Linked DNA regions of Homo sapiens: regions 1, 2, 3, 5, 6 and 7 are each linked to region 4. The links are contacts of gene promoters, found by promoter capture Hi-C in blood cells and fetal thymus (Javierre and others, 2016). All regions are on one chromosome and are shown on one strand. The core of a region is centred on a gene start or on the middle of the fragment in contact, and the rest is flanking DNA. Distances in the headings are between cores, read along the strand shown. Region 1 overlaps DST (dystonin). Region 2 overlaps DST (dystonin). Region 3 has its middle 17 kb from the start of LINC03001. Region 4 holds the start of KIAA1586. Region 5 has its middle 7.8 kb from the start of RAB23. Region 6 overlaps BAG2 (BAG cochaperone 2). Region 7 has its middle 13 kb from the start of LINC03001.

What was found. The method cuts DNA at HindIII sites, captures the fragments that hold promoters and counts their contacts. A CHiCAGO score of 5 or more calls a contact.
Region 1: a contact is called between a fragment that was not itself captured here and the fragment with the promoter of KIAA1586 in region 4, in 2 of 17 cell types (erythroblasts and megakaryocytes). The highest score is 8.9, in erythroblasts.
Region 2: a contact is called between a fragment that was not itself captured here and the fragment with the promoter of KIAA1586 in region 4, in 2 of 17 cell types (erythroblasts and megakaryocytes). The highest score is 10.0, in erythroblasts.
Region 3: a fragment that was not itself captured here is called in contact with the fragment with the promoter of KIAA1586 in region 4 in 11 of 17 cell types (activated CD4 T cells, total CD4 T cells, erythroblasts and 8 more); the score reaches 10.7 in activated CD4 T cells.
Region 5: a fragment that was not itself captured here is called in contact with the fragment with the promoter of KIAA1586 in region 4 in 9 of 17 cell types (activated CD4 T cells, non-activated CD4 T cells, total CD8 T cells and 6 more); the score reaches 13.3 in activated CD4 T cells.
Region 6: a fragment that was not itself captured here is called in contact with the fragment with the promoter of KIAA1586 in region 4 in 7 of 17 cell types (erythroblasts, activated CD4 T cells, naive CD8 T cells and 4 more); the score reaches 9.5 in erythroblasts.
Region 7: a fragment that was not itself captured here is called in contact with the fragment with the promoter of KIAA1586 in region 4 in 1 of 17 cell types (total CD4 T cells); the score reaches 5.1 in total CD4 T cells.

Annotation. Positions count from the first base shown.
Region 1 is chr6:56,916,816-56,920,525 of GRCh38, forward strand. The region is part of intron 2 of DST (dystonin); the gene reads right to left. Among named protein-coding and RNA genes, the nearest start is that of DST, 36 kb to the right of the region's middle. The HindIII fragment of the contact is 1,693 bases long and covers 746-2,438 here.
Region 2 is chr6:56,888,322-56,891,653 of GRCh38, forward strand. The region is part of intron 3 of DST (dystonin); the gene reads right to left. Among named protein-coding and RNA genes, the nearest start is that of DST-AS1, 46 kb to the left of the region's middle. RefSeq lists an enhancer at 2,379-2,438. The HindIII fragment of the contact is 4,927 bases long and covers 1-3,332 here.
Region 3 is chr6:57,244,869-57,248,449 of GRCh38, forward strand. It overlaps a transcript of PRIM2 not described here. Among named protein-coding and RNA genes, the nearest start is that of LINC03001, 17 kb to the right of the region's middle. The HindIII fragment of the contact is 1,298 bases long and covers 1,263-2,560 here.
Region 4 is chr6:57,045,063-57,048,629 of GRCh38, forward strand. It overlaps KIAA1586, which reads left to right and starts at 1,631. Exons shown (of 4, transcript NM_020931.4): 1 at 1,631-1,714; 2 at 2,251-2,334. The coding sequence starts at 1,694. RefSeq lists a silencer at 389-683 and enhancers at 1,313-1,402, 2,219-3,096. The HindIII fragment of the contact is 6,924 bases long and covers 1,113-3,567 here.
Region 5 is chr6:57,228,246-57,232,031 of GRCh38, forward strand. It overlaps a transcript of PRIM2 not described here. Among named protein-coding and RNA genes, the nearest start is that of RAB23, 7.8 kb to the left of the region's middle. The HindIII fragment of the contact is 2,893 bases long and covers 1-2,892 here.
Region 6 is chr6:57,187,324-57,190,790 of GRCh38, forward strand. BAG2 (BAG cochaperone 2) reads left to right here. Exons shown (of 3, transcript NM_004282.4): 3 at 1-2,510. RAB23 (RAB23, member RAS oncogene family) reads right to left here. Exons shown (of 7, transcript NM_016277.5): 7 at 1-3,277. The coding sequence ends at 3,138. Among named protein-coding and RNA genes, the nearest start is that of BAG2, 17 kb to the left of the region's middle. The HindIII fragment of the contact is 2,733 bases long and covers 175-2,907 here.
Region 7 is chr6:57,274,513-57,277,919 of GRCh38, forward strand. It overlaps a transcript of PRIM2 not described here. Among named protein-coding and RNA genes, the nearest start is that of LINC03001, 13 kb to the left of the region's middle. The HindIII fragment of the contact is 6,529 bases long and covers 1-3,407 here.

The sequences.
Region 1 (3,710 bases), core at 342-2,841, 130 kb before region 4:
ACACACACAGAGAGACAGAGAGAGAAAAGCTATTCAGGCTTTTGGGCTGGAGTTCCAGGCAGGATTTCAAGTCCCAAAGGTGAGCTACATTACTAAGGTAGGGAAGCAGCATTCACTGGGCCCCCATGAAATGGATGCTTGCCAAGACTCGCCATCAAGCCCCAGGCATGCTAAAAAAAAAAAAAAAAAAAAAAAAAAAAAAGACAGGCAGAGGCTCCTAACACACACTGCTCGGACCAGGTATTTCTCAGAAACAGCAATAGCCCACTGAGGATACACACAGCAGAAAGGACTGACCACTCCTGCCCACTGTCTGGGGGCTGAACCTTTGCCCTTGCATAGATCAAATGTGTATTTGGTCTGTGTTCAAGTCTTAAATGCTTTTTCTGGCAGCACATTCTCTCTCAAAAATCTGCTTACTCTGAAGACACACTTAGCAAGAAAGGAGAAAAAATATTTTCATGACCTAAAATCTTCTGATAATTTATGCTGAGTAAAGACAGAGAAAAAGCAGAAGGGAAAGCCAACAGGAGCAGGTTTTAAACAAAGATGGTTAATCAAAGGTTTGTGAGAAATGCTTGTGGCTAGTCCATTTTGTGGTGGCTACAGCATTTTTTACTGTTCATTTCTGCTCTGTCTTTGACAATGCATTACATGGATATCTGCATAAACTGTGCATAAGAAGTCACCTTGTATTGACTCCTTTTCCTAAGATGATGTTACTGAATCCAGATCAGTAGCTAAAAGCTTTGAAGAGATTTTTGTTACCTTCTCTTGCCCCTCTTGCAGTTATTTAGGCAAGAGCTATGAACTTTTTAACCTGAATCATATTATTCCTGTTGACTTTTCCCAGTAGACTGATTTAAAAGAAGTTTATTTCAATGTGGCTTTTTAAATAGCACTTACCACAGTTTGACTTATCATGGATATGAAGGGGAGGGACAGCTTCTTTTTCATCTTTGTGTCCTTCATTGCTCCTACTTATGTTTGGGCACAAAATAGACTCTCAATATGCTTTGGGTTTGATTTTTCCTTTTTAAAGATCTACTTGTGTGAAAATTTCAGAAAAAAACAAATTAGAAACTAAATCCACCTAAAATTGCAACCCTTTTTTGAACCCTATAAATAAGTGTGAATGTCCCTGTTTTGAATCTTCAAATACATCCCTCTAGAGTAATCACTGTGATGTTAGTTCCTATCATCTTGACTTCTCCTATAAAAATAATTCAACAAAAATGGGATCTTGTTTTATATATATGTTTTCTACATTGCTCTTTTTATGACATTTCAGGTTCAGGTGTACATTCTTTTTTTTTTCTTTTTTTTTTTGAGACAGAGTCTTGCTTTGTCACCCAAGCTGGAATGTGGTGGCATGATCTTGGCTCACTGCAACCTCCACCTCCCGGGTTCAAGTGATTCTCCTGCCTCAACCTCCTGAGTAGTTAGGATAACAGGCACGTGCCACCACTTCCAGCTAATTTTTGTATTTTTAGTAGAGACAGGGTTTCGCCATGTTGGTCAGGCTAGTCCCAAACTCCCGACCTCAAGAGATCCACCCACCTCAGCCTCCCAAAATGCTGGGATTACAGGCATGAGCCACCACACCCTCTTTTTTACAACTGAATAATTTTCTAGTTTATGCACGTACCATACTTAACTATTTTCCTACTGACTAGAATTCGGACATTTTAATTTTTTTCCAGTATAAACAGTGGAATAAACAAAATATCTTCAACTAAATCTTCTTTACTTAGAAGTGGTATTTCCAGTCCGTAGGAAAAAGTTTGAGAGATACTACAGGTACCAACTTTGTCTCTAAAAATGTACCAAATTACATTTCTAGCAACACTATGAAAGTGCCTTTTTAATTCTATTATCTCCATCAACACTGGATAATATAAATCTTTATATCTGTTGCCTATGTGATGGACAAAAGGCATTTTGGCATGCACCTGTAATCCCAGCTACTTGGGAGACTGAGGCAGGAGAATTGCTTAACCCGGGCGACAGAGGTTGCAGTGAGCTGAGATCGCACACTCCTGCACTCCAGCCTGGGTGACGGAGTGAGTTTGAATTTGCGTTATTTATTAGTAAAGTTAAAAATCTTTGTATATTTTTATAAGCCATTTTTTTCTCTGAATTGTCTGAATTTTTAAATTATTTTTTATATTTTTATAAGCCATTTTTTTCTCCGAATTATTTTCTTCTCTGAATTGTCTGTTCACATGCTTTGCTCATTTTTGTACAACTTATATGTATTTCTTATTGATTTGAGAAGTTTTTTATATAATATGAATAAAATAATTTACTATATATGCAGCAAGTATTTTTGCCTAGGTTGCAATCTGTCTTTTCATTTTGTTGTACATAAGTTTAGAATTCTTTTATTCAAAACTGCCAATCTTTTCCTTTATGACTTTTAAATGTTTGTCCTAGAAAGCTTTTCCCAACTGCAAAATTATAAAACATTCTCCTATACCTTCTATTTTTTTAAATCCTGTAAATGTACACTTATAATCCATCTGGAATTAATCATATGTACATTTTAATCCATCTGAAATTAATTTTTAAGTATAGTGTGAGAGACACAACTAATTTTATTTCCTGCCAAGTGGGTAACATCATCTACTTAACTATCCTTTCTCCAATGAATTTATTGTATTCATTTTTTAATTTCCTAAATATGTTAACTTTTTATTACAGAAAATTCCAAAATATAAAAAGATTTTAAAAAGAACCCTAAGTACCTATCACCCAACTTTAACAACCATTAGTGCCTCTCTATTGATTCCAAATGCCCATCTTTATTATTTACTAAACTCCTACATAAATTTGGATATATATATTTGGGCCAGGCAAGGTGGCTTACACCTGTAATCCCAGCACTTTGGGAGGCCAAGGCAGGCATATCACTTGAGCCCAGGAGTTTGAGGGCAGCCTGGCCAATATGGTGAAACCCCATCTCTACTAAAAATACAATAATTAGCCAGGCATTTTGGCATGCACCTGTAATCCCAGCTACTTGGGAGACTGAGGCAGAAGAATTGCTTAACCCGGAGACAGAGGTTGCAGTGAGTTGAGAGCCCACCATTGCACTCCTGCACTCCAGCCTGGGTGACGCAGTGAGACTCTGTCTCCGGGAAAAAAGAAGGATATATATATCTAAACACTCTGCTCTGCACCACTTCAATCAATGTGGTTATTTTTACAGCAATTATATAAACACATAAAAATTTTGATAAAAACAACAAATATATAGACTGTTTACACTGCATTGCAATGAGATAAAAAGTGTAGTAAGATACAGGCTAGCTACTGTAACAAAGAGATCCAAAAGTACAGCTATTAAAATAAGATCCAGTAACCAAGGGATCTAAGAACCCAAGATCCTACTCTATCACTGCTCAGCCTTCCCCTCCAATATTACTTGCCCACAGGGTTGAAGCTAGTTTACCACCACAATTCCTTCCCAGGCATGAGAAGAAAGGGGCTATAGGAGGCAAGCTGATTCTTTTAAGGGCTTGACCTGGAATGTGTATATATCACCTCTACTTATATCCAATCGGCCATAACTTAGCCATAGAGTCACACACATCTGCATGAAAGGCTGGGAAATGAAGTCTCTAGCTCGCTCACCATGCGCCCAGCTACAACCAGGACATTTCTATTACAAAAAGAAAAGAATAATTCTTGGTAGAAATTCATAGTCT
Region 2 (3,332 bases), core at 123-2,622, 160 kb before region 4:
TCAGTACATTGAATGGGTGTCATTCAAAAAAATTCTTTTCAGATAATTAGCAAAAGAAATTTGACTTTATTAATCAATTCATTCTCCAGAATTCCAAAGGGGAAAAGGAAACAAATGTTTCCTCTAAGAGCTTTGGATTTGCTAGTTAATTAGCCAAAGTAAGGTATGAGTTGTACAGTTATGCCTTCCACAAAAGGGGAAATATCCTAAGGTTATGCACATAGAGCTGCCTGGTCCTACATATTTGAAAAGGAAAGGGAAAAGGAAGACCATTTTAATAATCTAAGCAGGAAAGGAACACAGAAACACCCTGCTATATTTTCAAGAGATCAAGGATATATGCTTAAGTCTTTCCTACACTCCAAAAAGTTCCCAACTACAAATATGACAAAATCTGGTTAATTTAATTATTACAAATTAAAGCTATATAATGTTCCAAAATATACTGCAGCCTTACAAAAACCTAAGCTGTAATCAGAAAAACAGAAAATTTCCCCAAGACTGAAAAACAGAAACCCACAACAGAAGGAAAAGAAGGGTGAGGTCAAGGAAGTGGTGGTTTAGTTGGGGAGAGTTCAGGGAAGGGAAAATCTAATGAGTACATCTGGGACTTCATTTCCTGCTATTTTCTCTAGTCTCTACCTGAGTGGCCTTTTCTTGGCCTAAAATGAATAGCCTTAAATCAAAGTCAAGAGCTACCTAGACCCATGTCTGCTTAAGGCATTTATATTTCTGAGTGAAGAGTTGGAAGTTATAAGCGATCCTCAGTCCTCTTCCCAAACTCTCATCACTGGCAGACTCCAAGGCTCAGACCTCAAGTGTCTTCTCTTCTCTATCAAATTCATTTTCGGAGTCATCCCACCCAGTCTTATAGATTTAATAACATCTATGTACAAATAATTCTCACATCTTCCATGAAATCCAGACACAAGAATATCTAATAGTTATTTCAAACTTCACATATCCAAATCAGAAAATTTTCTTTCCAATCCTCAATCCAAACCTGCTTCTTCCTTTGTGCTTACCATTTCAGAAAAGAGGATCACCCAATCACCTGTGTTAGGCCCATATGTCCTCCAACTCCTCAGTCAAAACTGTCAGGTTCAAAAATCCCATTGCTTGATGGTGGTGGGAGCCCAAAAGTAAGAAAACAGGTGCTCAGAGGCTAAGATTTTGCCAGCAGGGAGAACAAGCTGCAGCTTTGGCAATAACCTGGGAACACTAGCAATTTTTAATTATACTTTTTCAGCTCAGTGAGAAAGTCTCAAAGATTCTAAGTCACCAGGAAATGCAGGCAATGCTGTTGCAGTGTGCAAAAAACTGGAATCAGTGAAATGTAACAGGAGTAGAGTCAGTATGTTTGATTATTTCCTGATGCTCTAAAACTGTTATTTCCCCATACCCACCCCCAATCTCAAACACATAAATACTTTTTGGGTCTGAAAGTTGTACATTAACAGGTTCATGTGAGCAGGCAGTAGGGCAAAATTACTCTTGCTTACTTCTTGCTACCTCCTAGGTGCCCTGCCACAGAAAGAGGGGGCCAATTTTGCCAATAAAATGATGGCAAAAATGATGTTTGAGGTTTACCTATGGTTTTCAATACCATTTTAAAGATAGGTTTTAATTGATGTAATAGTTTAAAAACACAAAGATTTCATCCATATCTACCATCTATGCAGTTAGAAAAATGAGACTCAAAGTAATTAAAATACTTCAGGAAGGCTGATGAGGATAAATGTCTAGCACTAGAATTGTAATCATGGGGAGTTCTCCATTCCTTACTCAAAAACGGCTCAAGCCAAGAGTGCCTAGGTTTAAATGTTAACTCCATGATCTACCAGCTGTATGACCTTGACACATTTCCTCCCTGGAAAGTGAGCACCGACTCCAGAGAATCGCTGAGAAGATAAAATGAGAGAAAAACAGAGAAGAGTGCAGAGAACAATGCCCATGTATTGTCAATGAGGTAAACATGCAGTAATGCAAGAGTTCTTATGATGATGATGATGATGTTTAAAAATCCTGGGATTCAGAAACAAAACAAAATGCTTTGTAATGTGAAAATACTAAGGAATAAATGGAGATCTGGATCTAATTATCTTTTCTGTTTCAAGATGGTAAAAAAAATTCCTAAGCATCCTAGTGACATATCTTAATATACAGTATAAATCCAAATACATATGTACTGAGAGGAAATCAGGATAAATTTTTAGTTTATCCACTTTTAGAAACATCTAAAACAAGGAGTAAAATAAAAAATCTAGATATTATTAAGTTTTTATTAGTGATCCCCATTACAAATTCTTATAGGTATATTTGCATATAGCTTACAAATCCAGAATAAGTAAATAGGTTAAAACAGCTAAGGATGCTAAAGTATTTGCATTTCACATAACACTTCAAGAGGATGGTCTGACTGAAAGTAGCTAAAACTGCACAGTCACGCTTTCTGACTCATCTCCTTTGCAGTTACTTCTGTTTTCAGTCTTTCTCACTCATGGGCCTATTTCTTATTTAGATTGCCACTAGAAATGCCTTGAGTGCTTCATATAAAGTCATTCAAGTAATCCTGAATCACCATAACTGATTTATTTTTACTCCATCTCCAAGCTATAATCAGAGTTGCTTTCATGGCAACACGTCATAACACTGATTTTCTCCAAATGTGTACGTTTAGAAAAGACACAGGCTTTAGACGCATGTTGAATAGGGTGGCTCTAGCAGGCACTACTGGCTGCACCTAACCAAATCCAGAAGAGGACACAAAGCCTCAGTTCAAGCTCATATATGGCATTAAAAGCAGGGAAATGTCGGCAGAGGCCAAAAGGTTCTAGAAGCCTGCACAGGAATTGTGTGAGACAAGGAGCCAACAGCCTTCTCACTACCAACTCTGACAACGTCCAGTCTCTCAGACAACTGACAGGAGATGCAGTAAGACACCCTGAAGACCTCTCCCAGCTGGATGTGGTGGCTCATGCCTATAATCCCAGCACTTTGGGAGGCCGAGGTGTTCTCTTGAGCCCAGGAGTTCAAGACCAACCAGGACAACACAGACAGACTCCACCTCTACAAAAAAAAAGTTAAAATTAGCCAGGCATGAGGCGTGGTAGCGGGCACCTGTAGTCCCAGCTACCCAGAAGGCTGAGGCAGGAGAATGGCGTGAACCGGGAGGTGGAGCTTGCAGTGAGCCGAGATTGAGCCACTGCACTCCAGCCTGGGCGACAGAGTGAGACTCCGTCTCAAAAAAAAAAAAAAAAAAAAAAATTAGCCAGGCATGCTGGCACCTGCCTATAGTCTAAGCTACTCAGGAGGCTGAGATGGGAAGGTTG
Region 3 (3,581 bases), core at 662-3,161, 200 kb after region 4:
TTATTGCCATGTCTCTATGCTTTTATTTCGTATTAATTATGGAACACGTTTGCTAAGTCACTTCCTGAGCATAGGCAGCTCCTCTCACTCTGCTCAGGTCAGTGAGTTAGTTGATATGTGTGCAGATGCCTCAGGTACAGGCTGCAGGGATGGCTCCCGGCAGGGAAGAACTGCCCTTCCTCCACGAGTCCCAGCACTGCCCTACATTGAGGCCTTCCTCTCTCCACTGTTTCTGCTGCTGCATTTGCCCCCACCAGTCTAGGCTTAGGTGCAGGCCTACCCACCTTGGAGCCCTATGGTGCCCAGGATGGTCCCAAGGCATGTTACCAGGCCAGGTCACCAGGATGCCGGGTTGCTTGATGACTTCCATGCTGCTGTTGAGCATGCTCCATCGTCCTATCATATTAAGCTAAAAACACAAGATCAAAGATAAAATTGTTAATTATTCCAAGATAGTGTAGGTCTTTCTGAGTGCAAGGCTGTGCATGAAGCTCATACACCCATGATGCATCACCTGCCTACCTCTTACATGCTTTATGGGTTAGTTATATTTGCCATCACTGGAGGTGCCAGTAAACTCGCAAGGTAGCCTTTGTGTGAGGTTTGGTAACCAAATTGCCAAGTTAGCTCAGGGAACTGCAACTCATGTCCACCTTTCATCCACTTAGGCCTTGCTGTCTTCCCTCTTTCAGGTTTCAGTTTTGTAGATTTTGAGCCTAGATTCTCTTTCTCCATCTCTTAGAGCACAACCTAAGATAGCATTTTGATAGTCTAAGCTCCTGGTCTGGTGTAACTGCTTCCACTCAGAAATACTTCCTCTTCTCTGGAAAGGAAGGGATCAAACAATAGCTCAGTAAGAACATAATTATCAGATCAGGAGTGCCTGCAGATGTAAAGGTTCTGATGCCAGAATATGGAGGTGGAGGGAGTGGTCTTGGGATAGTGCAGGGGATGGGGTTTGGGGCATGAGAGTGCACTTGGATTACCTGATTATAAATGGCAGCACAATGAATTTTTAATATAAAGTTACAGCTTTAAAATTATTGAGAAAGATTAGTTGATTGGTGTCACTCTAGTCATAGAAAACATACAAATCTAATTCTGATTTTGTGCCAACAGACTATTATTTTTGTGCTTGCACACTTATTGTATCACATGCATCTCTATCCATCCATTTATCCACATATCTACAAATCATATATCTCAACACTGTAAAAAACTCCAGTTCCTTATAAATTACTATTTTATTTTCTCTTATTCTAAGCTTCCTTCCTGTAACTTATTTAATTGTTAACAAAATGTGTTATAGAAACCTGTGTTACTTGTTCTGCAGCCCATTTACGGGGGAGAAGATATTATGTTTCCTTGGTCTATGTTTCAAAGGTATCAACTCTCTTTGTTCCTGTATAACTACTTACATTTGAAGTGAAAAACTCCCAGAGGCCAACAGAAAATGGCTATGAAACTAGAAAGAATACTATTCTACCTACGCTAGTATATAAGTTTCCTAAGATGTTAGTGAAATACAGCTGGAGAAGTGCTTCAGTTTGGCTCAGTTTTGTTTTGGCCCAACTCTTACCAATAGCTCCTCTCCAATCTCCAGGAGATACGCCGTCCTATCGGTGATGGGGGAGGAGCAGGAGTGAAAGACAGGATGGTGTTGCAACAATTCAAAACCCCAGAGCGCACAGTTACCCCCAATGCACTAATCAGGGTGTAGGTACTATAACTTACTAAGCCTGTTTAATAAATCCATGCCTGTACTCAGGTGAATGGGGAATGGTGAGAGAAGAGAGAACACTGTGATAACCAACCAGCTCGAACAGGGAGGGGCAGCCAGCCCACCGTTGCAAGGAGAGCTGGGCAGATGTCTATCAAGATAACCATTTCTGCTGCCTGCTGATTCTCTCACCTGCCAGTTTCTGCATCTGCCCATAGAGTACTCATGTGCTCCTTCCTGTACCAGATGATCTCCCTGGACTTAATTTCTTTTTTTTTTTTTTTGAGACGGAGTCTCACTCTGTCGCCCAGGCTAGAGTGCGGTGGCGCGATCTCAGCTCACTGCAAGCTCCGCCTCCTGGGTTCACGCTATTCTCCTGCCTCAGCCTCCCGAGTAGCTGGGACTACAGGTACCCACCACCATGCCCGGCTAATTTTTTGTATTTTTAGTAGAGACGGGGTTTCACCGTGTTAGCCAGGATGGTCTTGATCTCCTGACCTCGTGATCCGCCCGCCTTGGCCTTCCAAAGTGCTAGGATTACAGGCGTGAGCCACACCGCGCCCGGCCTGGACTTGATTTCTTGATTGCCTGCACCTAGAGTATCCATCGTCTTTCCTACGTGGCTGGGCAACTAGGTTTATCCCTTTCAGGCTAGCCCTCCTTCATTGCCATAACATCTAGGGGTGACATTGACTGAGTTGTATATGATTATTCATCATTTCTCGGGCCTAGATAGATTGTGATGAGTTTTAGGGCTTGTCAAATTTCAAGGCTCTGTTTTTATACCACACATAATTTTGGGAATTTGTAAAGTGCTTAATAATTATCCATCAATGAGTAAGCTTTGAAGGAAGATTAAAAAGTATTATGAAATAAATTACAGAGTTATAGTTGAGGCTTATTCAGAGCAAAATTATTTTTGGTGTATTTTGAGCACTAGGTAAATGTCAAAGGCACCCATGAGAAATAGCAAAAACTGCTGTAATAGTATAAATTCTCATTTATAGCTGCTGCAGAAGAGATGCAAATGTTCTCTATGTGGTTGCTCTGTGTGAGGAGGTGTTTCATGGGACTATCAAAATCCTATCTTAGGTTGTCATTTTGGACACTAAAAATTTTCAAGTAATAATTTAAAGAATCTTGAGGTTTCCTTTTGATATGGCCTAGAAACCTTTGGCAACTAATTTCTGTATGACTCAAAGGATTTCCCCTAGAAGGGAATCCTACTATTTGGGCTTTTAAAAATAAACTGTCATTCTGGATACATTTGTAGCCCTGACTAGTGGGTGAGCATGAGTTTCATTCTGAAATCCAGAAAGAATAATGAGACTAAAAAAAATCAAGACACTGAGTACAGTATATTAGTTAATATAGCATATAATTCAATGTTTGCTTTAGAATTTTGAATTTAGCCAAAAAATAATTGGATCAGGTACTAATGATCAAAATGAGATCACGTGAGGAATTAAGGAGTGTACATAAGATCTTGGATTACATGTTACATAGTCATGTGGCGTAACCAAATGTATCCAAGTGTATTTACATGTGACTTTGAATTATAATGGCAGAGAGTTGGTCAAGGAAGAAGAGTACCCAGGCACCCAGCAAGTTAACACTGGAAACAGATGGTAGGAGCGGTTTCAAATTGAGCCAACTTATTTAAATTACAAAGAGATCTTCAAGTTCATTTTGCTATCCATAGAAAGCAATAAATCACACCTATTAACTTACCTAATTGTCTTTAGCTAGCAATATTAGATTCAGTCTCATACTCCTTTAACTTTCATTTAATAGTGTTATTGGTTGAGGGTGGGTTGTTGTCCAGGTTCTTGGTGTTTCGAACAAATAATTGAACAAAATG
Region 4 (3,567 bases), core at 381-2,880:
CACCACCTGCTTCCTAAAAACCTATTGAAATAAAAAATACATTTTTATTTTTAAAAAATGTCCATACTACCCATACTACCCAAAACAATCTACAGATTGAATCCAATCCCCATCAAAATACCAATGACATTCTTCACAGAAGCAGAATAAACAATTCTAAAATTTATGTGGAACCACAAAAGACCGAGAATAATAGCAAAAGCTAACCTGAGCAAAAAGAACAAAACTGGAGGAATCACATTACATGACTTCAAATTCTACTACAGAGCTATAGTAACCAAAACAGCATGGTACTGGTATAAAAACAGACACACAGACAAATGGAACAGAATACAGTACCCAGAAATAAATCCACACACTTAGGGCATGGCTACACGGAGGAAGGGGTTTCTGAGCACAATACTCTGTGTGTGTTAACTTTGTAGTTTTGAAGTTAACAAGACCCTGGGCTCGCTATGCAGTCCGTATGTGATGTTGAACCCTTTACACACAGCACTAGACGGTTTTGAACCTATCAAAACACTGCTTCACTTAAATTTCACCAACTCCTTAAAATCCTAGTAAGTCTATGTTTTCCTTTGTTCCTATGTTCTCCTTTTCTCCCACTTTGTGGGTTGTCTGTTTACTCTGCTGATTATTTTTTTTGCTGTGCAGAAGCTTTTTAGTTTAATTAAGTTCAGTCTATTTATCTTTGTTTCTGTTGCATTTGCTTTTGGGTTCTTCATCGCGAAGTCTTTGCCTAAGCCAATGTCTAGAAGGTATTTTTCCGGTGTTATCTTGAGCAATTTTTATGACTTCGGGTCTTAGATTTAAGTCTTTGATGCATCTTGAGTTGATTTTTGTATAAGGTGAGAGATGAGGATCCAGTTTAATTCTTCTACATGTGGGTCACCAATTATCCCAGCACCATTTGTTGAAAAGGGTGTCCTTTCCCCACTTTATGTTTTTGTTTGCTTTGCTGAAGATCAGTTGGCTAATCAGATACCTCATAGCTCCTTTGTTGTATAATTTTGTGCATTGTAGATCAGGGTCAAAATGATAAAGGTGATTTTCTGGGACTACAGACTTGTCAATAACAGGTGGTCCTAGGCTGATAGAGGTAAACAAATAAAAGCTTTAAAAGAATATTCTCTGTTAAAATTTGCTTTCATAAATTTCATGTTTAAAATCATTTGTGAATAAATGTTAAAATAAAAAGGTGAGCCACGATTTTGGTAAGGCAATTTCTGAGCAAATCACACACAATTTTTTTTCATTCCCATTGATCTATTACATAGACGAATATTTGGTTGTGAAAAAGTGAGAGAAAGAACTCGGCTATTTTATTATAGTAGAGCAACACCGAAGGGAGACGACTTCGCTGTAGCTCAGAGTCTTTTTCCATTCTTCACCCACGCGCGGGGCAGTCGCGCGGCGCGGTCGCGCGGCGGGTAGGAACTACCATCCCAGCATCCTCTGCGGCGCGGGGAAGGAAGCCCGGGAATGAGAGAAAGAGGCTCCGGGGAGATAGCGGACCAGTGAGGGCTGCCCCTCTTTTGAAGCGGTTTTCGTCTCTTTCCGCCAGTGGCCTCCCAGCTCACGCAGGGGCGGGTCCCGGTAGCGCGAGGCGGTGCAGGGCGGGAAGGGGAGTGGTGGCGGCTGCGGCAGTAGGGACAGCAGGAGCAGTGGTGCTGTCAGCGCGGCCGTCGGAGACATGGGAGACCCGGGGTCGGAAGTGAGTAGTCGAGTGAGGGTCCTGGCGTTCTCAGAGGCGAACCGCGAAGGGTTTGTGTTTTCTGCGGTCTGAGGCCTGGTGCTCCGTCGCAGCCTCGGGGCGATACCTCTTCAGTGTCTTGGGCCGAGCCCAGCTCTGGGGCCTGGTGCGTGTCTGAGCGAGGAACCCGCAGCAACAATGGCCGCCCGGCCCCCCGCACGGGCCCTGGCGTTCGTTGTGGCCGCGGCTGGGCCAGTGGGAGCGACGTTTTAAGGCAGGATTGCCCTTCGGTGTTGAGCTTGCGTTCCTCCTGGAGTAGATAAGGGGAATTGTGAGAGGCTGGTAACTAACGCGTTTTCAGCGTTGGGTCCCTGCAGCTCCGCACACTCTGTGGCAAGAGCCAGAGCTCGAGTTCCGTTCCTAGTCGGGTTTCCGTGAAATTGTGCTCAGTTCGTTTTCCTCAAGAGCTCTCTGTCTTTAATTGTTCCTTTCGGAAACGCTCTCTTCCTACACGAATGTGGCTGAACAGATAAGCATGTTTTGGCTTGTTTTTATAGATAATAGAATCTGTCCCTCCAGCTGGCCCTGAGGCATCTGAGTCAACAACGGATGAAAATGAAGACGACATTCAGTTTGTCAGTGTAAGTAGCAATGATGATTGGGGTTTTCCCAGAGTAAAAGACTATGGTGGGCCATTATGTAATGTTACCTCACCTGGTCATTTAATGTTCATGAGTGTCTAATACATACTAGACACTGGAGCATGGCGCAGGATTGGGAAATTTACCAAAAGAGCTATCTGAGCCACCCCCGTAGCCATCACAAAGAGCACGTCCTAAAGAACGTGCTGTACACTTAATCTCGCCCCCTGCCTTTCATTTAAACTTAAGATAAAAACGCTGGTGTCTAAAACGCTGTTTTGAAATGGAGCAAGAGTAACTTCTAAAGGCGACACGGAGGAAGGAGCTGCTAATGATGAGCAAGGACGTAGAAAACAGGAAGGGTTGTGAGAGCCCAGAATCTTAGCGTTATGGTGCTTCTAACATGAAGGCAAATAGCTTGAAGATTTCTCTAACCTCTGAGATCATCATGTTACGGCATAGTACAGTTGATGCTCATAATGAAGAATCCTACATCACTGGGAACATGCTCTATTTTTCTGAGTTTGTTCCCTTTGAGACAGTAGTTTTCAAGCCTTAGTAAGTATAAACAGGCAGATTCCTGGGCCCCACTGCAGACCTACCGAATCAGAATTTCCAGGCGGGGGCCTAGGAATCTTCATTTTCAGACAAGTGCAGGGACATAAGGATTTCTGAGCACACTTTGGACAGAATGGGTTTCTAAAGCAGAAGGGAGTGTTTTATGATATATTTTGGGGTGATTTTCATCCATAATTGTTGGAGTTTTAGAAAGGCTTTGCGTAAAGTGGTATCTCAGCTCGCCAGGCAGAAAACAGTTCTGTCCCCAACTCGTCTTTTGGAATGCCGTAGTTAGTTGCAGTTTGGTATTCAGGCTGTAGAATTTTTCTTTAATGGAGTGTCTGTCTAATGTTTCTGTGTTTTTTAGTTTTTGTAGGTTTAGGGCGACTTTGTAAGTCACTTGTTTTTTAAATTAAAATTTCCTCCCTAAACATTGTTTTGTTAACATCGTTGTTTGTTTTTCGTGTTTTGTGTATAAGTTCTTTACCCTGTCACTTTCTGGACATATTTCCCAATTAATAGTGTGTGTATATTTTGTTCCTGACATTTGGAACCTTTCTAAATATTGATGATACCAAGGGAGATTGTATGCTGACTCTGCCTTCACTGTTGTTATGGAGTAAGCAACGTAACTTGAAATCAAAGAGCAATGGTTTCTGTTTTTGTAACGAGAAA
Region 5 (3,786 bases), core at 196-2,695, 180 kb after region 4:
GCTTCCTAGGTCATGAAAATAACATTGTTGTAGAGCTTCCATGTGCATCAGGTATGACTGAATAGTTTGATGCACTTGCAAATCACAAAGTGCCTTCCTTTGAAATGTGTAAGGCAGGTTGAGATGCAGCTTCTCAGATGGATTTAGTCCCTCCTAGGACTAGATGTCTCCTTGTTGCAGCTGAATTCTCATTTCATTTACCCATAACTAGAAACACCTCATGAACACCTATTTTAAACATTGAGTTGCCATCAACCTGAGGGACCAAAGAAATGGATTGAGGGCAGGGAGTAGTTGGAAAGAGCAGGGAATTGATTTAAAGATGAGACATGTGCGATAATGAGGTACAGGCACTTTGTGGGGTATGGGAGGGCCCCAGGTAGACAGGAGCTGGCATATGGCTTACAGTCATCCAGCCAACGTTATTGGGCTCTTACAACTCAGGCTTCGGAGCCAGAATCCCTATATTTGAATTCCAGCTGTACCACTTACTAGCCGTGTTACCTTGGACAAGTTACTTAAATCTCTCAGCGCCTCAGTTTCCTCACTTGTAAAATGGAGATAATAGTAGTACTTCCTGGAGTTATTAGAGGAATTTAATGAGTTACCATACGTAAAAGCACTTAGAAGAGTGTAAGCCCTCAAAAGAGTTAGTAGAAGTACTAGTAGTATTTGAAAGTTACTAGTTATATGGGAATGGAAGGGACAGAAATGTCTCCAAACGGACTCATCTCTAAGTGGTGAAATGCCAATGGCATTGCCAATGATATATCTTTTTCTCCTCCTTGCTAGAGTTTTTCTTCAGCTTTACTGCTCTGCAGTGTCCAAGTATGGATTGTTTTTATTATATCTACAGTATTTAGTGTGCTACTTCAATAATGTCTTTCTTCAGTTCTGCAAAATTCTCAGCCTTATATCTTCAAATATTGCCTCTAACCCATTCTATTTTCTTTTTCTGGAACTCCTATTAAGAGAGGCTGATCCTAAACCCCTCTTATAATTTTCATATCATTATCTTTCTGGCTTTATTATGTGAAATGGCCGATCTTCCAGTTTACCAATTTCTTCTCCATCTATTTCTATTCTACAGTTTAAATTTACCTGAGTTTATAATCTCAATGAACTACATTTAAAATTTTCCACATGTTCTCTGTTTTGTTAAAATTTCTTTTCTCCTGTAGTCAAATTATTGTATTCATTAGGCTTTTTAATCTTTTTTTGCATTACTTTAATTCTTTTTTTATTTATTTTTTTTTTTTTGAGACTGAATCTCGCTCTGTTGCCCAGGCTGGAGTGCAGTGGTGCGATCTTGGCTCACTACAGCCTCTGCCTCCCAGGTTCAAGCAATTCTCTTGCCTTAGCCTCCCGGGTAGCTGGGATTACAGGCACATGCCACCACCCATGCCCAGCTAATTTTTGTATTTTTAGTAGAGACAGGGTTTCACCATGTTGGCCAGGCTGATCTCGAATACCTGACCTCGTGATCCGTGCACCTTGGCCTCCCAAAGTGCTGGGATTACAGGTGTGAGCCACTGTGCCTGGCCTGCATTGCTTTAATTCTTTTGAACATAATTATTTTAGTCCCTTTGCTATTGTTCCATTATTTCCAATTCTTTTTTGTTGCACTCGATGACTCTCCCTCATGCCTCCTTTGGTGGTTTTTAATTTAGGAATGTGAAGTCATCTTCATGAGGGCTGCCTTTTCTATGGGACTTCTATATGCTTAGCCCCTGTACAATGGCTTGATATCTGCTTTTGATATTTGCTTTTGTCAAAGCCAGGGCTTCAGAATGTTCAAAGATGTGGGAACAGCATTTAAATTCTCAGCTTGGAATGCCCACATCACATAGGTAGCATAAATTCAGAAAACATGTCCATCCATGGTGTAGGTTTTGGGCCTTGATTCCTCCCAGAAACATTTCCCCATTCAGGATCCTGGGGGATGGTAATCTTCCTTGTCGCTTCCCTGTTCTCCTTGACAAAATTTTTCTAGCTCCCTTTTCACTGAATTGGTGCGTATTCTAGTGCCTTGTTTTTATGTCTGTGTCTCACTTCCAGCCTTCTCTTTCATCTAGACCAGGACATCTCTTCAATCACTTGGGAGCATTCAACCTTCTGTTTTGGTCCTCAGGTGGGGCACTTTCTTGGCCTGTCAGGACCACTGGGGATTCCCCTTTCTTTGTTTTGACATAGGCTATTGTATTTTTTGTTGTTGTTACAGTTTATCTTAGTGTATATGTTTATCTACGCTTATCAAGGCTGTGCATATCTAGTGGGAGGGTTGATATCAGTTCAGTTAGCATCGTTACAGGAACAGGGAGTCTTGCTTTATTTTTTATTGCAAATTAATTCTGATCTGAGACATCACTTGCCAGGGGTCGTAAGATACCCAATGTCAGTCTTTAAATTAAAGATTTCCTTCTCTTTTCCATAGTTGCACAAGACTTGTCAGAGGCTTGCACAGTTTGGAAAACTTAGGCAAAGACCCTGGTACTCAATTGTGATCATCACTGTGATGTGAATTGCCCATGTACATTGAGTCTATTTGAATAAATCTACATCCTTTGTGCCCAGTTTGGTTATAAGTATCTTTTACCTCAACTCCCAGGGTTATGGAGGTTGGTGTTCATGTCTCCACCACTGAGAAGCTGAAGCACCTTCAGAGGCTGTACTGTATCTCCTGGTAAAGCCAGGCACAGATACCTGTAGTTTTTGGAACCTGCTACCTCCATCAGTCTCTAGGAAACTAATTACATTTTTTCAATCCTAAGGATCCACCTCTTGAGCAGAATGGTGAGGACATTTGAAATGTGTAGGTACATTTTTTGGTTATCTTAATGACTAGGGTATACTATTGTTATTTAGTGCCTAGAAACCAGGGATATCCAGTGAAGCTTTCCAGAAAGTCCACTGGAGACTTTTCTTTGAGAAACATTGTCTTTTCCATCCATATGTGAGATGGTCCAACTTAATCCTCTTGGAAAGACCATACTTAAAAAAGTTTTTACTTTTCCCCTAGGGAAGGTGTAATGAGCTCAGACCTTTTTAAAAATACAATGTTAGGTTTCTCTTCCTGTGGTAGGGAGGGGAAAGGGATTACTTTATTCTACTTGGTAAATACTTATCTCAAAAACTCACCTTGAATTACAAATAATGATGCAAAAACAAATTACAAACTGAGAAAAAAATACTCTCAATATATGACAGATAAAGGGCTAAATTTCTTTAATATACAAAGATCTCTTACAAGTCAATAAGCAACAAATAGGCAAAAACCACTCACATCCAGATACTGAAATGAAAGATAATAGCCTATTGACATGAGTATATTTAATATCTTCACAATTCAGAAAATGCAAATTAAACAATAAGGATATAATTTTCCTTGTGTCTGATTGACAAATTGAACAGGTTAACATTTAATATGGGGAAGGATGTGGGAAAACAAATATTTTGTTGGAACGTAAATGGAATTAACCCTTTTAGAGAGCAATTTGGCAAAATATATCAAAATTATAAATGTGTATTTCCATGTGTAACAATTTTATTTACACCATTTTCTATGAGTGCTTGAAAATATTAGTATATTCCAGGTAGAATCCCTAAGGGAAAAAAAAAAAACCACTAGTACAATGAACTTAATTATCCCAAACGCTAGGGAAAATGGATATGGAATTTATGGTCTGAGCAAAGCATTCAATGCTTTTCTTCTTTTCATCCTAAGTTATAGTTGGTTACTTCCAAATATAAAGGCTAAAGCTTTGGCATTACCATGTTTTCAGAGAT
Region 6 (3,467 bases), core at 291-2,790, 140 kb after region 4:
TTCAGAGTCTACTGCGGGTTTTAAATATTTTGTTAGCAAATGAATTCATCTGTATGATGAGAGACTTACATGTTTTATAGCTGAAAACCTAAGGAGTGACAATAGTACATGTGACATTCTTAACAGTTAAAAACTGAGTAAGTCCTGTTCATTAGGTAGGTGCCATGTGGAACAAGCTTTCACCTCATCAATGCATTTTGTTTTCAGAGAAACAGACTAATGATAGATTAATGGGAACATTTTATCAGGTTAGCAGTAACTATTTCAAAGGTTTTGAAAAGTATGCTAATAATTAACAATATCTTATATTAAAAGGGTCCAACACTAAGTTGGGACATTAGGTCCTAAGGCCAACTCCCTATTCTAAGGTCTTCAGAAAAGGTCCAGTTTCCTAAAACTCACAGGTCCAAGGAGTACATGTTATTTATTGAGAGTTCCTTCTGAGCACTGCACTGCCAACTTCTAAAGCAACCACCTAGAACTTCACTCCATAATGAGGAAAAAGTTTTCATCCTCTTTTTGGTAGTTTTAGCTTTATTTTGAAAAAGTAACGTGTGCTATCAACTTTGGGCAGATACAAAGGAAATCATTTAACCTGGTTTTATTTAACTATATTGCCTTATATGGGTCATTCTATATACTATTTAATTCATAGACAGAGACTGGAAAAGGAAAAGGAAACCTGAGGAACTCTGAAATATGGCAGTTATTCCACAGCGATATGTCTACGCAAAAGATTAGCCGTAATGTTAAAAAAGTAGATTAGAGCACAAATGCACAATCACCTGGAATCTTGGAAAAGTTTTTCTTTAGTATACATGGTTTCATAAAATTAAAGTTATTTAAGAGAATGAAGGGTCTTGGAAAAAAAATGTCAATTTTTGAAGGCTTTAAGAATTGATTAAATTGAGAAATTAACATGGCTGACTTTCAGGCCTACTTAATTATTTTAAATGACTAATTATGGTTAGGTTTAAAATACAGCAGTGCAAATTAAAAATTCAAATATGTAACAAAGCTCTCTCTTCAGTTCTTATTTAAAAAAAGATAAAACTAGGTACATAAAATTATATTACAGGAACTGTAACTATCCTCAGAGATTACTTTTTTTAAATATAGAAAGGTAACACGCTTTTAGCCACACAGCTAACATGAAAAAGAACTAACTAGAACACATATAACAAGTGATTTTTCTGCCAATAAAGACAAAAGACTATTTGTTGCAAAGTATTATTTTGTGCAAAAATTAAAGAGGAGAGTAGAGAGTAGAAAATTGAAGAGAGTAGAAAAGATGACTCATTAGCAGTATCCACTGTTTGTTAGGAACTGAATTTTGCCCCCAAAACCTATGTCACTATCAGCAATGGGAGTGGTGACAACTGGTGACATAAAAATAAGCATTTTACATTACTGTGAAATAGATAATGCCAGATCATTTCAATATAATGAAAAGCAAAAATTTACTTTTTAATTTTTTTTATTTTTCCATCTAAAATGGCAAAGAGAACATTTACTTTTGATCACTTAACAAGGACACACCCAGGAAATTTGATTTTCTCAACATTAGGAGGATGAGGGGAGTACAGATGGAAAAACAAAAGATAAAACACAAAAGGAGTACATAAAACATTGTTTAGTACAAATAATGAAAAATGACTTCATGACATTTTCCAATAAAAGTTATTTTTACAGATTTTGCAATGCTGTAAAAACCAGGTATATTGAAAGGGGTTATTTATAGGTTAAAAATAAAGCCATTGATGAGTGATAATCAGTTTTAACAGAGTTCACGCAATTATCTTAGCTGGAAAGCTACTGTCCCAAGTGACAAAATTTATGTCCTGACACATGATTACATATTAAATCATTTTGTAAAAGAAATGATTCTGTATGTGGGACTGACAGCTCTTGAGAAAGTGCTATACAAACAAGGTTATAGAAATGTTGAAGTGATTGATAATCTTAAAATACCATACAAAAATGTGTAAACAAAAGGATGGTTTAGAGTTGCAGGGCATTATAAAATATGTAATTTTAGTTAAGACTAATAATAATATTTTTGTGCACTTTAAAAATGGTTAGTGTAATCTTGTAAGTTCAAAGCTGGGTTCTCAGTGAGCAGCAAAAGGTGTTAGATGCATCACCACACTTCACAGGACCTCCTGAATGACTGCAGATGTGCTGTGTACCTTCTTAAGGGGCTTTGGCTGACCTTATGAGAGCAGGAGCTCACCATGCTTATGGGTGACTATATCAAAAAGATCTGCAATAAGGCTCACCTGGGAGATGCTCTAGCATTCAAATTCCTATACTCCTCTTTTATCTACGCTGTCAGATGAAAACTGCTTACTGCTTTTAAAAGATATAATAAACAATATAAATTCTGATAGTAAAGCACTATAAAAATTAGGTATGATATTTTTGGCACAAAGCACTTTTTAAACCCAAGCTCATTTTGCAAAATATATGTCTAGAGTTTATCATTTGAAAATAAAAACATATACACAATATGTAAATGGTTTTATAAGTGAATTAATTAGAATGTACATTTTCTTAAATACTGCACATACCTTCAGCTTACTCCAGTACCAGACATCTGCATGCACACCCCACATTCTACATTACACAGATATTGCACAAGTTTCAATGCCAAAATACTAATGCAGTCTGGCAAGATTTAGGGTTTACCTTTCAGTATTATTTTGTGAAAGTATTCAGATTCAATACTATTTCGCAGAAAAGCTACATGACCAATTTCAGGAAAAGAATGCTTGCTATCTTTCCTTGATCCACAGTATTAAAATCTGTAACAATATATTTAGGCATTTCATTTATGTTTTCCAGCATTTAAAATTCCGCAAAACCTGTGTTTGAAATTTCTTATAGCATTCCTTTACAAACAGGAGAAGCTTCGTCTAATGTAAAAAAAATTAAAGGAGTCCACAGGGCAATAATTTTTCCACCAGAGGTCTCACTCTACATTCTGAAAAGCACTGCAGAGCAATATTTAAGTCTGTCACTTTCAGAGAGCCATTAGGAGCAAAGTCTGCTGAAAACCTTGTAACATACCATGACAGCTGGATGGGTTTCTTAATGCATTGCACAATGTAATTCAATTGTTTTCCTCCCAAAACATCTTAGGGTATGCTACAGCTGCTAAAAGGATTTCTGTTTTTCTTGGTCCTTTGTTTGTTGGGTCTAAGATTGATGACATCTCCACCATTGAGGGTACCTGAATTCTGACCGGAGTGACTTCCACCAGATGTATTAAAGACACCTGTATAAATTGAGGGAAAAGAGTGATTGCCACTGACACGCCTGAGTTACCTGTTGCATCCAGCTTGTTAGTAAAATCAGTAATATTTTCAAGTATTTACAGTTTCTCTAAAATTGTAGTAAAATCCAACAAAATTTAGCATCTTAACCATTTTTAGGCATACGGTTCAGTGGTATTAAATACATTTGTA
Region 7 (3,407 bases), core at 388-2,887, 230 kb after region 4:
AGGTGCTGTCTGTCACCCCTTTCTTTGACTAGGAAAGGGAATTCCCTGACCCTTTGCGCTTCCCGGGTGATGCGAAGCCTCGCCCTGCTTTGGCTCGTGCACGGTGCGCTGCACCCACTGTCCTGCACCCACTCACTGTCTGGCACACCCCAGTGAGATGAACCTGATACTTCAGTTGGAAATGCAGAAATCACCTATCTTCTGCATCACTCACGCTGGGAGCTGTAGACTGGAGCTTTTCCTATTCAGCCGTCTTGGCTCCTCCCTCTGTTTATTTATTTTGAGACAGAGTCTTCCTCTATTGCCCAGGCTGGAGTGCAGTGGTGTGATCTCGGGTCACTGCAACCTCTGTCTCCCAGGTTCAAGTGATTCCCCTGCCTCAGCCTCCTGAGTAGCTGGGACTACAGGCACGTGCCTCAACACCTGGCTAATTTTTTTTTTTTTTTGTATTTCTAGGAGAGACGGGGTTTCACCACGCTAGCCAGGATGGTCTCAATCTCCTGATCTCGTGATCCACCTGCCTTGGATTATAGGCGTGAGCCACTGCGCCCAGCCCCTCCTCCCACATTTATACATGTGATGTCTTTCAATATCATCTCAGAATGGATAAGATGTAGATCAAAAATTCTGTCAAAAACAGTGCAAAAAAATGCAAGCAGACGAAATACCAATTTTCAAGGTAAGCAAGCAAGACTAGAGTTAAAAGTAGACTATGTGGTTGGGTGCATTGGCTCAGGCCTGTAATCCCAGCACCTTGGGAGGCCAAGGTGGGTGAATCAAATGAGGCCAGGAGTGAAACCCTGTCTCTACTAAAAATACAAAACAAATTAGCGAGGCGTGGTGGAGCACACCTGTAATCCCAGCTACTCAGGAAGCTGAGGCATGAGAATCACTTGAACCCAGGAGGCAGAGGTTGCAGTGAGCCAAGATCGTGCCATTGCACTCCAGCCTGGGCAACAGAGTGAGACTCTGTTTCAAAAAAACAAACAAATAAAAGTAGATTATGTTATTACTGGACAGTTACTACTGAATGAATCCAAATATTTGCTTTCTTCAGCCTTACACTTGGACTGCCAGGCTGCTAGAGAAACATAACAGGACAATTTCGTGTCATCTTTAAGTCAAGACTTTAAACAGAATTTCTGGAAGGAAGCAACTTAAATGCATTTCCTCCACTTTCATTGCCAGCCTAACACAGCTGTCGTCTCCTGAGCCATTGAGTTCTTGGGCCTACAGTGGCTGGAGAGTGCTGGCTCTGTTGGAGTCCTCATGAAAAAGTAGAATTGGACTTTCTCCCAGTGGGCCAACTGGAACTCCTTCAATCCCACCAAACGGGTAACAGAAACGTCCATAGCAGTGGTGTTCATAATAGCAAAAATGCAAAACTATCTATACATCAATTAGTAGCAAAATGAATTAATCAGTTGTCATATTTTATACAGTGAAATATTGTATAGCAGTGACGAGGAAGGAACTGGAGCTCCATGTTTCCACATGGATAAATCTCCAAAATATAGAACTGAACAAAGAAAGAAAATAAGCAAGTAGCAGTAGCATGCTAGAATATTATATAACTAATAAAAAGTTAAAAACTGGGCCAGGCGCAGTGGCTCACACCTGTAATCCCAGCACTTTGGGAGGCCAAGGTGGGTGGATCAGCTGAGGTTGGGAGTTCAAGACCAGCCTGGCCAACATAGTGAAACCCAGTCTCTACTAAAAACACAAAAATTAGCTGGGTGTGGTGGCTCACGTCTGTAATCCCAGCTACTTGGGAGGCGGAGGCATGAGAATTGTGTGAACCCGGGATGCAGAGGGTTGCAGTGAGCTGAGATCATGCCACTGTACTCCAGCCTGGGCAACAGAGTGAGACTGTCTCAAATAAAATAAAATAAACCAAAAACAAAAGTTAAAAATTATAAAACAATACCATTTACATATATATATATATATACATGCATACATATGTATGTATGTAAATACATATATAATAGTAAAAAAGAAAAGGTAGTGGTTACTTTTAGTAAGGGAAAAGCATGGGTGGAAAGACATATATAGGAGCTTCAATTTTAATGGTACCATCTTAATTTGTAAGCTGAATGGTAGATGAAGAAATGATCATTAAGATGTAATGATATATTTGGGAGGCCAAAACAGGCAGATTGCTTGTGCTCAGAAGTTTGAGACCAGCCTGAGCAACATGGTGAAACCCATCTCTAAAAAAAGAAAATAGAAAAAAATTAGCTGGGCGTGGTGGTGCATGCATGTATTTGGGGGGCTCAGGTGGGAGAATGGCTTGAGCCCAGGAGGTCGAGGCTGCCATGAACCAGGGTTGCGCCACTGCACTCCAGCCTGGGTGACCAACTGAGACCCTGCCTCAAAAAAAAAAAGATATAATGATATATGAAATGTAAGATTTTTTTTTTGCGTGTCTCAAATAAGTCAAAGAAGCATGGGGGAGAATAAGAAAAAGGAGAGGAGGAAGAGGAAGAGGAGAAGAGGAAGAAGGAGAAGACCACCTTGGAAGGACAAAGAATAGGAACCAGCAGGCCTGTGAGTTCCAGTGGGTGTGTTGTTTTGGGCAAGAAGTTACCATCAGAGAGACTCAGTACAAGAAGAGGGAATGCTGAGAGGCATTCCTGAGGTCAGAGAGTGTGTTTGCTGGGAAAATCAGATGACATGGGATGGGAAGGTATCCTTTCAAAAGGGGCAGGTCCATCCATTCCTTCAATGTATATTTATGTGCTCTGCACTGTTCTAGGACACAGCAGTGAACAAATCAGCCCAAAATCTGCCCTCATGAGCTTAGGTGTCTGGCAGGCAAATTCTGTATCTAGCCTGTTTGTGTGAACTTCCTAGCTAGGCATTCAGGGAAGGACAGAGATTTATTTACTCTACAAATATATATTGAACACTTCATATATGTCAAATAATGCTGGATGCTGGGGAGATGGAATGAGTCCCTGTCTTCAAGGAACTTACAATGCAGTGGGAAAAGCCTTATATGCAGTTACCCATTTAAAGTTAAATGTGTTGGAGGCAAGCAGAGTACCTTGGGAACACAGCAGAAGCCGGGGGGTGGTAGGGAGTGTTGGAGCCTGCTTCTGCTTGGAAAATGAGTTGATTTCAGAGAACCACGATGTGAATTCAGAATCAGTGTCAGTTCATTAGCATAGATTAAAGATTCTGGCCAGGCGCGGTGGCTTCATGCCTGTAATCCCAGCAATTTGGGAGGCCAAGGCGGGTGGATCACAAGGTCAGGAGATCGAGACCATCCTGGCTAACATGGTGAAACCCCATCTCTACTAAAAAAATACAACAAAAATTAGCCAGGTGTGGTGGCGGGCACCTGTAGTCCCAGCTACTCAGGAGGCTGAGGCAGGAGGATGGCGTGAACCCGGGAGGTGGAG